Regions from separate parts of the Homo sapiens genome. Here region 2 is linked to region 1. The links are contacts of gene promoters, found by promoter capture Hi-C in blood cells and fetal thymus (Javierre and others, 2016). All regions are on one chromosome and are shown on one strand. The core of a region is centred on a gene start or on the middle of the fragment in contact, and the rest is flanking DNA. Distances in the headings are between cores, read along the strand shown. Region 1 holds the start of PTGDR2 (prostaglandin D2 receptor 2). Region 2 overlaps VPS37C (VPS37C subunit of ESCRT-I).

Evidence for each region. Contacts are between HindIII fragments. The CHiCAGO score rates a contact against its expected background, and 5 or more counts as called.
Region 2: a fragment that was not itself captured here is called in contact with the fragment with the promoter of PTGDR2 in region 1 in 1 of 17 cell types (naive CD8 T cells); the score reaches 8.1 in naive CD8 T cells.

What each region holds. Positions count from the first base shown.
Region 1 is chr11:60,853,943-60,857,458 of GRCh38, reverse strand. It overlaps PTGDR2 (prostaglandin D2 receptor 2), which reads left to right and starts at 1,509. Exons shown (of 2, transcript NM_004778.3): 1 at 1,509-1,590. The HindIII fragment of the contact is 12,934 bases long and covers 401-3,516 here.
Region 2 is chr11:61,131,444-61,134,959 of GRCh38, reverse strand. It overlaps VPS37C (VPS37C subunit of ESCRT-I), which reads left to right. Exons shown (of 5, transcript NM_017966.5): 3 at 753-924; 4 at 1,623-1,705; 5 at 2,421-3,516. The coding sequence ends at 3,140. Among named protein-coding and RNA genes, the nearest start is that of VPS37C, 28 kb to the left of the region's middle. RefSeq lists an enhancer at 1-203. The HindIII fragment of the contact is 780 bases long and covers 1,310-2,089 here.

The DNA.
Region 1 (3,516 bases), core at 260-2,759:
ATCCACCTATGTTCTCTGGAGGGCTGCAGGCATTTGTCTTTGGAAATCAAGCCTTCCCTGACCTGGAGGAGAGGGGACATTTTCCTATTGTTAATGATTTGGATCACCAAGGCTCTTACTGATCTGCCATATTGGGCTACAGTGAGATGTATTATCCCCATCACAAGGGCATAGCATTTTACTCATTTTCCACTCATGATGGTAGCCTCTCAGCAAGAGCGTATTATGCATTAGTCTCTGCGTTAAGACTAGGCCTAAATGGAAGATGCTTGTGCTGTCCATCTCATGGGAGGTGCCTTTGCCTCGATACAGGGATATTGAGTTCTTAAAATGTTTTAATGAGTATCCATTAGGTGCTGAGATGCTGAGGTTGAAGGGATGGTCCTGACCCCAGGAAGCTTGGTCAGCAAATGAGAGTAAGGAGTTAGGGAACAATGAAATGCAAACTTCTCTTATCCTAGGGCTTTGAGCCTGTGTGTTTTTTTGTTTGTTTGTTTTTGTTTTTTAGTTTAAATTTCCATTTTTTTTTTTTTGAGATGGAGTTTTTACTCTGTCACCCAGGTTGGAGTGCAGTGGTGTGATCTCGGCTCAATGCAACCTCCACCTCCTGGGTTTAAGCGATTCTCATGCCTCAGCCTCCCAAGTAGCTGGGGTTACAGGCATGTGCCACCACGCCTGGCTGAGTTTTGTATTTTTAGTACAGACAGGGGTTTTGCCACATTGGCCAGTCTGGTCTTGAACTCCTGACCTCAAGTGATCCATCCGCCTCGGCCTCCCAAAATTGAGCCTGTTTTAAATAAAAGCTATATGACCTTTGCCTTAGAGCCTATATTCATTTTTCCCTCAGAGGAGAAGGAAGCTGATTTTTATAAGCACTTACTGTGTGCCACGAGCTTTGTGCAATCCATCTCATTCAACCCTTACCACAGCCTGTAAGGCCGATGTTACTGCTCCCGTTCACAGATGACAACCCCAGGGCTCAGCAAACAGAAGTGACTGACCTCTTGGACTGCGTTCTTGCCACTGCCCCCACTACCCCACTGTACTTTCCTGGCCTTAGAGCCCTCGGGTCCCTCATGGACAGGCCCCCACACTGCCTGGGAAACTCAGAACAGCTGGAGGGGTTTCTTCTCTGAGGATTCTGGTGTCGGGAGATGGAAGCCCAGGAACAGTGGACAGATGGATGAGACATTCTCCTTCTCACGCACTTATCCTACACACTGGTCACTCTCAAAAGCACACCCCTAGTCACACTCGGGCTCACACTCTCTTGCACACATCGATTTTTTCACGTGCACTTGCACTGCCCTCTGGACTTCTGCAGTCTCCTTCATGAAGCGGGGATGGGTGGAGCAGGGGCTGCCGGCATTGATGGAAATTGATGATATTTGAACATCTGTGTGGCAACTCACTCTCCAGCTGTCCCCGCCTCCCCCAACCCCACCCCTAAACACACATGCACTGGGGCTGACAGCTATTTCCTCTCTCAGCCTCCCTCTCCCACCTCTGTCTGCCCGCTGCCTCTTGTCTAGCTGCTGTCAGGAGCTGACTGCCTCCAGGGCTGGAATCCTGTGCTCCCTCTGTGCCCAGGTAAGGAGGAGTGGCCCAGGGGTTGGGCAGCCTAGTGCCCTCTCTAGACCCACAGAAGAAGGCAAAGTTTTACCAGGTGAGAGGGCTGTTACCAGCTAGGATGGCAGAAGATTGAGTTTACCAAAGACTGGAGGGGACTTGGTGCTCAGAGGAGGGAAGGATTAGCTTCTCTTAGGCATTAACTAGATGTCAGATACGAGGGGAAACCACTCAACTGTCTGTCAATATTCACAAGCAGTCTGGGTGGGAAGATGACACCAGCACGCTTAGAGTAACTGGCCCAAGGTCACGCAGCCAGGAAGCTGAGGAGCTGGGATTCAAACCCAGGTCTTGGACTCCCACAGCTTGCACTCTCTGTCCCTTTTTTTTTTTTTTTTTCTTAACCTGCCAAAGCCGGACCTTAGCTGCTTGGCTCCTGAGAATCCTGGGAGGCTGGGGGCTGTCTCTATAGAGTTAGAAGGACTGATCTGGTGGTGCCCAAGGGTGTGGCAGGACTGTGCTCTCTGATCATCCCCATAGGACTTGGATCAGCAGCAGCTGGTCTGCAGGGAATGTTTCAGGGCAGACAGCGGGTGGTACTTGGCTATCTGCTGGGAGTGAAGTCCCAGCCCCACTGTTGCAGCTGAGGAACGCTGGGCAAGTTGTTGTTTCTTCTTCTGAAAAATGGGGTGTCATAGGTTCATTGCAAGAGTAACTGCTCTGCACATTCTAAAGCCTAGGAAGTATGACCATTCTCAGGAAGCACAGGCTCCTCTTCCATCTACCTGCAGGTCTCTAGCTCCAAGGGGCTCCTCCGCCAGCAGAATTCTAGTTTGATATTCCAGAACCCCACTCTACAAAGGACTGTGGTCTCTGGAAGGGAGTGGGTTTTCTCATCCTGGCCAACAGTGTTTTCCCTAGAAAGATGAGTACTGAAGACCATTGCTCCCCTCTCCCGCTTTTCTTCCTCCTCCTCCATCCTCTCTTCCTTGGAGTAGGGGTAGAGGAAAGAGCACAGGCTGAGCATGAAACTTTCTCCTCCACATGTTTGTGCTGTCTGGGTGGCTCTGGGCCAGTTATTTAACCACTTGAGGCTCAGTTTTCTCATCTGTAAAATAGGATGGAGTACTAGCACCATTTTTCTAGAGCCAGAAAGACAGCACCTATGTGAAGGACCTACCATAGTACCTGGAGTGTCATTGGTGCCCAGGACACCCTGAGTCCCTGTCCCCTGCTACTTGCCTCCTACCTCCTGCATGGAGCCTCATGGAATTTCCTCAGCCCTCACTGGTCTTGACCAGCCTCACATCAGATGGTCTTTCGGGCTTTCAATGAGGATGTAAGCATGCACGTCTTATTTGTTGGATGAGTGCATGATGGAGTAAGTGAATGAACAGGGGTGGGTTTCCTGGGGCGGAGAGAGCTGCTGTGGCTGCTCCTGAGAAGGGAGAGATCTTTTGGCCCCACTGGGCCTCCAGAGCCCCATGTGGGAGTTCCTCCTCCCCAGCTCTCCTGGCTCTTATCTTATTTCCTCTCCAACCATCAGAGGAGGGGCTGGTTCCACTGTTTATGGTCGGCACATCTAACCAGCCACCACTGAGTGCGGGGAGCTGCATGGAGGATCTGTAGAGAGGCAACATCTGGGGGCGCTGTGGATGCTGTGGGAAGGGGCAGCATCTCCATCGCCCAGGCCAGCAGAATCCTCTTGCCCTAATTGTGGGGCCTCCTTCACCCGCCAGTGCTCTGGGGATGGGAAAAAGGAGTCCTGTGTGGCCTGACCTTGTTCCTTTTTCTCTGTGTGATCTTAGACCATTTGCTCCATAATCATCACAATGACACTGATAAAGTGCTTGCTCTGTGCCAGGCCATGTTCTAAATGCTTTTATGTATTAAACTCACTTAATTCTCCCAATAACTCTATGAGCTAGGTGATGTTATGACTGACAT
Region 2 (3,516 bases), core at 450-2,949, 280 kb before region 1:
GCGGATGCATGGGGCGTCACATCACAACAGCTGGCAAGGGTGCCTTGGCTTCTGTCTCACTGGCTGGCAGCGACGAAGAGCCTGGCAGAGGGGTAAAGTGCCGCTTGGCTTGGGGAAGTGTTTGCAGCAGGGAATGTCCAGGGTGGCCCCTCTGGCTCATCTGTGCAGCTTCTCTGCAGGACACATGTGTGGCATAGGAGGCAGGTCCAGGTCTCTCCTAAGTCAGTGGCATGGTCTGGTCCAGGGACCTGGCTCTCTCACCCCTCACAATAACTTTATTTGGGGCCTCATTATATGTCTTGCCTGTGCATCTGGCCAGGACCACCTGAGCCCACCATGGTAGGTCTCTTGACTCTGAAGCTTGGGGATAAGTAATTGGGACTTTTGATCCCCTCCCTCCTGGAAAGCCTCTGCTTTTTCTCATGTAAATTGGTCCACCCCCTCCTTGGGGCTCTGCACATTCCATCATGGATATCAATCACATGGCCTTGGGCGAGCTCTTCACCTTCAGCGCCAGGTTCCCATGCGTCTCCACCTCGTGGGCTGTGGGTTAAGGATTAAGTGAGGCGCAGAGTACTTCATTCAGGGTTTGAACCTGGCTTTGTCTGACTAGTTGAGGGCTGAGTATTGCCCCAAGGATGAGCCTCTCCGCCCCAAGGTGAGCAATGTGTCCCCGAAGCCCCTGACCCAGGCTGCCAGGAGGTTAAGGGTGATGGACGTTTTCCTTAGGTTCTGTTGTCCTGCCCTTTTAGGTCCAGGACCTACAGCTGGAACGGGAGATGGCACTGGCCACCAACCGGAGCCTGGCAGAGCGGAACTTGGAGTTCCAGGGTCCCCTGGAGATCAGCCGCTCAAACCTCTCGGATAGATACCAGGAGCTCCGGAAGCTCGTGGAGCGGTGCCAGGAGCAGAAGGCAAAGCTGGGTAGGGTGGCTCCTCTGTGAACTCAGGGTCCCCATTCAGGGTTGGACGGAGGCCCACCGTGTTCCCAGCCCTGTGCTAAGTGCTTTATGTATATTTTTTCACAACAGCCATAGAAGGGTGGGTACTGTTGTTACTCCATTTTATAGGTAAGAAAAATGAGGCTCAGAGAGATTCAATAACTTGACTAAGGTCACCCAGCTTAGAAATAGGTGGAATTGGGATTTGAATTGAGACAGCCTGCATCCTTTGCTGCTGCCGTTACCCTTGGCAGCTCAGCTTCTATGCTTTACTGAGCTGTTCCTGAGCTGCTCTGGGCTCTCTGTGTCCCAGGACCTGTCACCTTTGAAGGTGGGAGGGTGGTCCTTGTCTTGATGGTGAGAAAGCTTGACACTCAGGTTAGGTAACTCCCCTTGCTGGCAGGCAGAACTGGGTCAGTTGGGCTCTGAAGCCCAAGTCATTTCCCATCCCAGGATGGCGTAGGGTAGGCTTGGCCAAGGTCTAGGCTAGGTTCATTCGGGCCCTTCTCTGCTCAGGAAGGAACTGGACCAAAAGTGCTCATCAAGCCCACCCAGAAGGACCCTTTGGTGGACCCTGCTGTGGTGGCTGGGCCTGGATGCACACAGAGGGTATGCAAAGTGCCTTTAACACTGAATCAGGAAGCACTTTTCAAATGTCAGTCGTTCTGCCCTCCCTTCCAGAGAAATTTTCTTCAGCACTGCAGCCAGGGACCTTGTTAGACCTTCTGCAGGTGGAAGGCATGAAGATCGAAGAAGAGTCCGAGGTGAGAGGGCGAGGCGACACCCCTCTTCCCTGGACGGGGTGTCAGTCCCTGCAGCAGGGGCCCTTGGAAGGAGAAGCAGATGTCTGCAAAGCATGGAACAAGGGAGCTTTCGTAGATGGCAGAGGTGAAGGACATCTTTAGTCCTGGGGAGGCCTTTTGGGTATAAATAACAGGAACCCAGTCCCACTAGCTGAAGCAGAAACGGGTGACAGTGGACAAGGGCAGCTCGCAGCCCTGGATGGTAGGGCAGCACAGCAGGAGGCCCCCAGGGGCTGAGGCCAGCTCCCTACTCCACTCTCCCTGCTTCCTGCTTCCCTCCGGCCACCTCTTCAGCCTCTGTGGGCAAACTGGTGCTGTCCACTCTGTGTCTGGGTGGAAGAAGCTTCTAGGCCCTCCCAGTCCCTGGGCTAGTGCTCATCCAGGTGTTCAGCACATATATGCAGTGGCCACTGTGGGCCTGGCATGATGCCAAGGTGCCAGGACAGAGGTGACCACGACAGAGACAGTCCTCGCCTTCAAGGGACTGACATTCTAGTGAGGGAGACAGTGCATGTACCATATGTCAGCTGTGAGAAGGGGCGTATGGGCAGGGAAGAGGAGGGGGTGCCTGAGGCGGCGTGAGGTGGGAGGGCTGCAGCTGAACTCAGACCCTGGGGAAAATCAAGAGGCCTTGATCCCAGCTGCCCCTGTTGTCACTGGACCTTATGTCTTCCAGGCCATGGCTGAGAAGTTCCTGGAGGGCGAGGTGCCCCTGGAAACGTTCCTGGAGAATTTTTCCTCCATGAGGATGCTGTCCCACCTGCGCCGGGTTCGCGTGGAAAAGCTCCAGGAAGTGGTGAGGAAGCCCAGGGCTTCCCAGGAGCTGGCCGGCGATGCCCCTCCACCCCGTCCACCACCCCCGGTGCGCCCAGTCCCCCAGGGAACACCCCCTGTGGTTGAAGAGCAGCCGCAGCCACCATTAGCCATGCCTCCCTACCCTTTGCCCTACAGCCCATCCCCCAGCCTGCCTGTGGGCCCCACTGCCCATGGAGCCCTGCCACCGGCCCCTTTCCCAGTAGTGTCCCAGCCCTCCTTCTACAGCGGGCCTCTGGGCCCCACTTACCCGGCAGCCCAGCTTGGACCCAGGGGTGCTGCGGGTTACTCCTGGTCCCCACAGAGGAGCATGCCACCCCGGCCGGGCTATCCTGGGACCCCAATGGGTGCCTCTGGGCCTGGGTACCCCTTGCGGGGAGGCAGGGCCCCCAGTCCTGGTTATCCTCAACAGTCCCCATACCCCGCAACAGGAGGAAAACCTCCCTACCCAATACAGCCTCAGCTCCCCAGCTTTCCAGGCCAGCCCCAGCCCTCAGTGCCCCTGCAGCCCCCTTATCCCCCCGGGCCCGCCCCTCCCTATGGGTTCCCACCACCGCCGGGGCCTGCCTGGCCTGGGTATTAGACACACTCCTGGCCCTCGGCCCCTCCCTAGTCCCACCCACGCTCAACCTTTGGCCCAGCCATCGCCGAGATTCGAGGGTCAACTGGAAGTGGCGTTGGTGCTCCCTGTGGACTTGCGTCGGCACCCAGAGGCCTTGGAGGGACAAGGCACTGGGCGGTGTGACTGGTCATGGCACTTGCTGGCCTTCTGGCCAGAGGTCCTCCTGGAAGCCCCTCCTTTCAGTGCCTGGCTGCAGCGGTGCTAGCCAGGCTGGAGTCCAGCACCTCTCGCCGGTGTCTGTGTGAGTGAGCGCATGTGCGCATTTATGAGCATCTACTTGCGGCTGCACTCAGGGCCATTTGAACCCAGTGCAGAGTTATCTCTATGAGGAGGCCCC